2 separate regions of the Homo sapiens genome follow, and region 1 is linked to region 2. Evidence: promoter capture Hi-C in 16 types of primary human blood cells and fetal thymus (Javierre and others, 2016). All regions are on one chromosome and are shown on one strand. The core of a region is centred on a gene start or on the middle of the fragment in contact, and the rest is flanking DNA. Distances in the headings are between cores, read along the strand shown.

What was found. Contacts are between HindIII fragments. The CHiCAGO score rates a contact against its expected background, and 5 or more counts as called.
Region 1: a contact is called between a fragment that was not itself captured here and the fragment with the promoter of LRRC69 in region 2, in 1 of 17 cell types (neutrophils). The highest score is 6.9, in neutrophils.

Annotation. Positions count from the first base shown.
Region 1 is chr8:90,063,553-90,067,218 of GRCh38, forward strand. It overlaps CALB1 (calbindin 1), which reads right to left. Exons shown (of 11, transcript NM_004929.4): 6 at 2,346-2,423. LOC124901976 (a long non-coding RNA gene) reads left to right here. Exons shown (of 2, transcript XR_007061004.1): 2 at 2,487-2,730. Among named protein-coding and RNA genes, the nearest start is that of CALB1, 17 kb to the right of the region's middle. The HindIII fragment of the contact is 1,924 bases long and covers 1,259-3,182 here.
Region 2 is chr8:91,100,905-91,104,280 of GRCh38, forward strand. LRRC69 (leucine rich repeat containing 69) reads left to right here and starts at 1,715. Exons shown (of 8, transcript NM_001129890.2): 1 at 1,715-1,940. The coding sequence starts at 1,758. The HindIII fragment of the contact is 4,824 bases long and covers 1-2,329 here.

The DNA.
Region 1 (3,666 bases), core at 971-3,470, 1.0 Mb before region 2:
AACTACTTGTATATATGCAGTAAAATTTTAAAAACTAGCATTTTTAAAACTTTCAATGCAAATTTTCAATTCTGTAATGTGTCCATTGCTAGAGTTTATCAGGATAATATAGAATAGTCAAACAGAGAAATAGTGGTTTTAGCTATGTTTCTAGAATACTGTCACTTTTTTATTGCAAATACGTTCATATGTGTATCAAGATGTGGGAGGGATGGTGTCTGACAGTTTTTGCACATCTGGAATCTCTCCAATAAGAAAATAAATATTTATTTCACCCTTTTAGAGCATAGAATACCACAAACAGAAGCAGAAAACAGATGACAAATAAATCCTTACAGAACAGAATTTTTGAATAATTTTGAATTGTTTTATTTTCTATTGGGTATTAGAAACTCCATAAAGCTCTCCAACTCTCCACTGCACTTATATATACGTCATTCACAAAGACACATCCAGATGTAAACACACTCATACCCGTATTTGGGAAGCATTCACCTTTTTAGATAGTAGCAACTATTGCTATAATATGTTATACCAAAGTAGTATATATGAATTACATTAAATATATAAAATGTGTATACTAAATGAACACTAAATATGTGAAAAATTAACATTATTTTTGTTTTTAAAGAACAGAATGTGTCCAGTGTTATAATGGATATAGATTTAGTGACATCTTTTTAAGAAGGAAAGGAAGGGCATTCTGTGGTTCGAGGTATTCTAAGAATCTTTTGTAGGAGGCAGATTTTTTTCAGGATCCCATGCTGACAAAACATTTTATAATCCATTGACCATAAATTCTGATATTGTCACACTACCTACCAAGATACTGGACAGCTCGATTACTTAGTTTTGTGCCCATGGGGAAATATTTCCCAACATATATATTTAAATTTTAATTAGCTCTCGATTAATTTGCTTCCTGGATTTGAACTGGTTTATGACATTTAATCAGATATGTCAGGCCAATCCAACAGAGGGAAACTCCCATCTGAGTGGGTTTTGAAAGGCTGCTTCAATATTCTACCTGGAAAGGAGCCTTTCTTTAAATAGGCATCCCTTAAGATTGGAACAAAATAGAAAATTGATAAATGTAGGTTATTGTCCATTACCTAAAAGTTATTCAGAGCTTAGACCTGTTGATTGTGACACATAGCAAGAAACTCTCCCCCATTTGTTTGCTAGTGCTATTGTAAGTGGAGATGTAATGAGGAATTAAAGATGACCATGAAAACCTTTTTGGTTGTTTTGAAATTAAAGCTTAGCCCCACCTTATAATAAATAACACTAGTTAGTGAATAAGGCAATAGTAAAGTTCTAGTAGTTCCCCCTCCCCAACCCAGATAAAAGTAAGCTGAGATGCTGAAAGCAAACCTCAGTTACATCAAATATAATCAAACCCTTTATTAGATTGTTTCTCAGAGTAATTAAAAAGTCTAACTCCTTCTTCAATCTAATATAACAGTAGCTTTTATAGTATAGAGCCATGTTTATGGTTTATTGATGTAAATCCATGGAGTAAGAATTCACAGTACCTTCACAGTACTGAAAGCTGTATAAATATATCTATCTCCTGGTAATCCTAATTCTGTGATGAGTCAAAATGAGCAAACTTCGTCCAATAGAAACTAACTTCATAGACATTGGTTTATTTTATCTGGAACCTTATTTATCTGCTCTTTTTTTTTTCCTGAAACAGTAAGTGCCTATGTGTAAAGCAGTTTTCTTGGCTCTATTATCAACATTCTATAATTGATCTTAGTTGTCACTATTTACCATAGCATCAACCTTAGGGCATATTTAGATTTCCTCATTCAAAGCACCAATACAAAACCCCAAAACAACAAAAATCAAAAGAAAGAAGGAGACCCATTTTAACTTGCTTAATTAATAAAGTAGCTAGATGGTCTCTTTAAACTCAACAAAGTGTGATTTCCCAAACTATGATAAAAATGGATTTAGGAACTCTATAATAAGTGAGTTTTTGGTGATATAATTTATATATATATAGTGTACCTTATATATGTGTAAGTTATATAATTTAGTGATATAATTACACTGGCTTTGGAAGCAAAACAAGTCATCTTTTGATAGATAAAAATTACACAGCTCTACAAGGAAGAAAATGCTCATATGTTGAGTCTTAAAGCCAATGCCTGCAGAACTCAAAATGACAAGATGTAAGCATCCCTAAGTATTTCACTTTTCAAATGAAATGATACCTATGTGCATATGATGCCCACACCACCGTTTATTTATTTCATCCTGTGTAGCCTTGGGAGTTAGCAAGAACATCATACTACTTCATGAGCTCTTGGGTACAATCTTTTCAAGATCAGTCTTACCATTAGGTCTGTATACTCGGCTAATTTTGTGTCATCAACAGTCTTGTTTGCTTTTTCTAGCAGGTCCTTTAGAAAGTTCTGTTAAAACAAAGAACACTTAGATTAATTTCATTAATAATATATCGTCTACTTTCATTTCAGAATGCCTTGGAACAGGACATACCAGGAATGCAAAGAAAGTCTCCTTTTGAGGGGTAGAAGCAGGTGAGTAGAGGAACTTATAATAGAAGAAAGACTAAACCAGGTTGTCCTCCTGGCATTCCAGCAATGAAACTACCTTTGACAGGAATAATACCTGCTTTTTACTGAGACTTGATTGATCATTGTCTGTGCATTACCATGACTTTATGATTTCAATTAACCTGAATAAAACCTTTTAAAACCAGCCAGCCCAATGGATGCATTTCTTCTTACTGATATCTTCACAAGTACTCATTGGATTGTTCTGCAAGAAACACAAGGGCCTTTATACCTTTGGAATATTGTGAAAAAATATCAGTAAACCAAATAGAGATCTATCCCTAATTTCAAATCCATTTTCTGCTCCCCAGGCTGTATTTACACATTAGTTTATAGCCAGCATGATGCTTATTTCTCCAGAGGGCCAGTTGGGTAGTTTTTAGCCTAATGCAGTCCAAAGCACTTTGGTTAAAATGCTTCCACTGACTATTTAAATTAACAAAATTGGCCACAGTTGATGTCATTGAATCTTTGAAAGATATATGAATCATATTAAAATAGAGATTAATGTGGGAAGGATGAAAAAAAGATGATTATTAACTTGACACCTGGAGCTTAGGAATGAATTTAAGTTTTTTTAACAGAAACATAAATAAAAGCTTTACAAAGATTTGCCATATAAGTGACAGTGTAAGCACTTTATAATAGTCATTCATTTTGTTTAGTGCTATTCATTCGTAACTCCTTTATTTTCTCAGAAAATGAATTAATGCAATTAGGAAAAACTAGGCAGATACTGTGCCCAGATATTATTGAAGGATTAGATTTCTTTGATTTAGCAATGACTTATCTCTCTCCTAAATGTTCCAGTTCTGGGCTGATTTGATGCCACTTTTTTAAAGGAAAGAGACTCTTTTCTTAGTTTGATAAAAATTTTTTACTTCAAATATTCCACTTCAAATCCAAAGTGAAGCATGGAAAATTCAAAGTTATCTGTTGGGGTTGAATTTTATTTTTGAGCCTTCTGGGGCTTTTGTCAGAGATTAATTGGGTTAAAAAGCCTCATCAGAGACTAAAATGGTGGTCACAAAAATAGCCTCGGAGAAACCTTGGGACGCAGAGATTCAAAGTCGTGTCTGAG
Region 2 (3,376 bases), core at 465-2,964:
TTGTGTTCCCTCCAAAATCTCATGTTCAATTATAATCCCCAGTGTTGGAGACTGGGCCTGGTGGGAGGTGATTAGATCCTGGGGGTGGAGTTCTCATGAATGCATTAGCATCCTCTCAGTGCTGTTTTCCTGCTAGTGAGTGAGTGAGTTATCCTGAGATCTAGTTGTTTATGTGTGTAGCACCTCCTTCCTATCTTCCTCCAGCTCTGGCCATGTGAAGTGCTGGCTCTCCCTTTGCCTTCCACCATTATTGTAGGCTTCCTTAGGGCTCCCCAGAAGCTGAGCAGATGCCAGCACCATGCTTCCTGTATAGCCTGCAGAACTGTGAGCCAATTAACCCTCTTTTCTTTATAAATTACCTAGTCTCAGGTATTTATAGCAGTGCGAGAATGGACAAATACAAACCCCTATGTGTCTATTACTCAGCATTAATAATTATCAACATTTTGTCAATCTTGTTTGATCAGTTTCTTCCACCCACTTTCCCCCCTAGATTATTTTTAAAAAAACTCAAGATATCATTTTATTTCACTTGAAAATTTCAGTATGCATTTCTGAATGTTAAGCACATTTAAAATAAATACTACCACCATACCATTTTCACATGTAACAGAATTAATTTCTCTCATCTAATAGCCGATGAACAAATTTCCCTGAGATGTTTGTATTCAACTGAGGATTCAAATACAGTCCAGACATTGCATTTAGCTGTTATTTGCCCTAAGTTTCACTTACATCGTAACAGTTTTCCCTCCTTTTTATTAATGTCTTTCATTTGTTGGTGAAACCTTGTGACATTGGACCAGGGACCAGTCCTGTAGAATCTTCCATGTTATAGATTTGACTGTTTCCCTATAATGAACTTAACTTATTCTCTAGTTCTGTTTTTTTGTAAATGGTAGTTAGATCTTGAAGCCATGATTAGATTCAGATTTAATTTTTGGACAGGAACATTTCATAGGTGGTGCTGCTGTGTACTTTTTAATTCATTACTTCATAAGGCTTATAATGTGATTGTCTCAATTTTATTGATGCTAAAATGATTAGTGGGTTATTAACCTGATCACTTGATTATAAAGTTCCTCATCAACCTTTCATCTAATACTTTCAGTCTCCAATTATGATTTTTGCATAGCTCCATTATTTTATTAGAATTTGCAAAAATTGTGATTATTCTAGTTATTTTGTCTTTCTCATTTATTAGTTTCAATTCTTGTGAATAAGAACTTTATTAACTATTAAGTTATATTTAAGTGCAGTTTGTACTGGAAAAGCAGAATAAATGCTTATATTTTTTCCTTTATCAATTTTCAGACTGAGTTGGTGCGCTAGTAATTCCCAGGGTGAGTAATGTTTCTTTTTAAAAAATGCCATTATGAACTCAGATTTTAATGTGTTTTGATATGTTTCAGTCTATTCTAGATTATTTCTTTCTGATCCTTAATATTTTCCATCTTAGACTAGTGGGAGCTCCTAGAAGTTCACTTCTGTGTCCTCATTAATCTCTGATAGCTTTAATATCGCAGGCATAAGCTATTTTAGGCTTACATTATACATTTCCTGCCCCAAACCTGGACCATCTACTTTCCTTTCGTATCTTTCACATAGGAAAATAATCTAATGCTTCCCCCCTTCAACATGGTGGATCTCAGAATGTTCTTGTTTCTATGACACACCAATTCTGTAATTAGAGGTTCTAAAGCTGTATAATAAAGAACTCTAATGGTTACCTTGTTTTCTACTTCTTTTCCAAGATCATGACTGAGAGATTGTTAATAAAAGCATTGAGTGGTGGTAAAAATACGAAGATCATTACTTTGAATGGGAAGAAGATGACAAAGATGCCCTCAGCATTAGGAAAACTGCCTGGCCTGAAGACTCTAGTCCTTCAGAATAACCTAATCCCCAAAGTGTGTCCAGAGTTATGCAACTTGACCCAGGTGAGGAACAGTGTTTTGCTGTTGTGGTTTGGTATTGAAGATGGAAAACAGGAAGAGAGAAAAAAGGGGTAAGAGACAGAACAATAACACTTCGATCTATGGAGACTTAGGTATCTGGAGACTTAATGTGGAGTGTTGCTGGAGAGGCATCAGAAGGCTTTCTCCCTTAGGGAATTCCATGTGGTAGGGAGAGATGTTTCAATTTATTCATGTGCTCTTTGGCCCACATCTGGAGTCAGGGGACTAGGTCTCTGCCACACTCATCTTTTTAGAGGCTGTCATCTGGAAAGGGGTTGGAAACCTGGATCTGGTCGTCTATCTTGGGGGCTTACATCTGGAAGTAGTTTTGAGGATCCAGGAGATGCTGTTCACCCTGGGGACTGTCCTGAAGCTTTTGCATTTAGAATGAAGAGACATTTAGGATGCAGCAAGGGAGTTCCTTTTCAATTTCCTAGGGCAGGCTGAAACTTTGAAATGGAGTGTTGGCAGGGAATAGGAAGGAGGGGACATTTATTTCTCCTGAAATAGTCTTTAAAGGAAGTTTAATATTTTAAATAAAAAATATTCTTTTTTAAAGAGGAATAGTTGACATGAATGAATCCCATATGCTTGTGTTAAACCTTTCTGCCTAACAATGTGAAACTCTAGCTGCCAAAAATCTTGAGGTTGAGAGAAGGCAAGGGATATTAACTTTGTAATTTTCTTTTTGTTCACTGCTGAATTGTCATCAGCACAGGAAGAACCTAGAAGCAGCTAAGGCGTTATAGCTCATTAATTTTGAATTTACAGTTCCAAAAAATAAATCTGTATTTTCTTACTTTCACCCTACCTCATTTCCTTTTACGTTTAAGAAATTGAGTTTGTAATCTGTAGTTGTATCTTTATAAGAAATAGGGTAACTTTTACAAAGTCCCCCTTCATTAGTAATTGCAGAAGGTATACTTGTAGTTACAAGACAACAAGGACTTGGAATTTTTTAATAGGAAAGAGGAGTTTCTTTGCAAAAGAATTTGGGACTTGACTGAGTCATGAACCTATTCTCTCCCTCTATTTGAATTTATTTCCATTAAAGTAGTACTAACCATTGGTTACCGAGAATTAAATATTACAAAAAGCTTATAGCAAGAAGCTATCTTCTATCCCACTTCCCCTCATCCTCAATCCCGATCTCCATATATAACCACTTTTAACTCATCTATTTTATTGATTTGTCTATTTTTGGCATCATTTTTCTTCATCTTCTAGATACAGTTATATTAATGTATCTATTGTGTATTGATCCACATCTGGAATCAGGGGATTAGGTCTACAGGTATCTTTTACATGTAATGTTACTACACCTTTATTTCTTCCTTCATCAACTGCAGTCTCTTTTGACTCCCCACTTCGTAAGATGACAGTGTCAGCCTTTGTAATCCACCTTCAGCTGTCCTTTC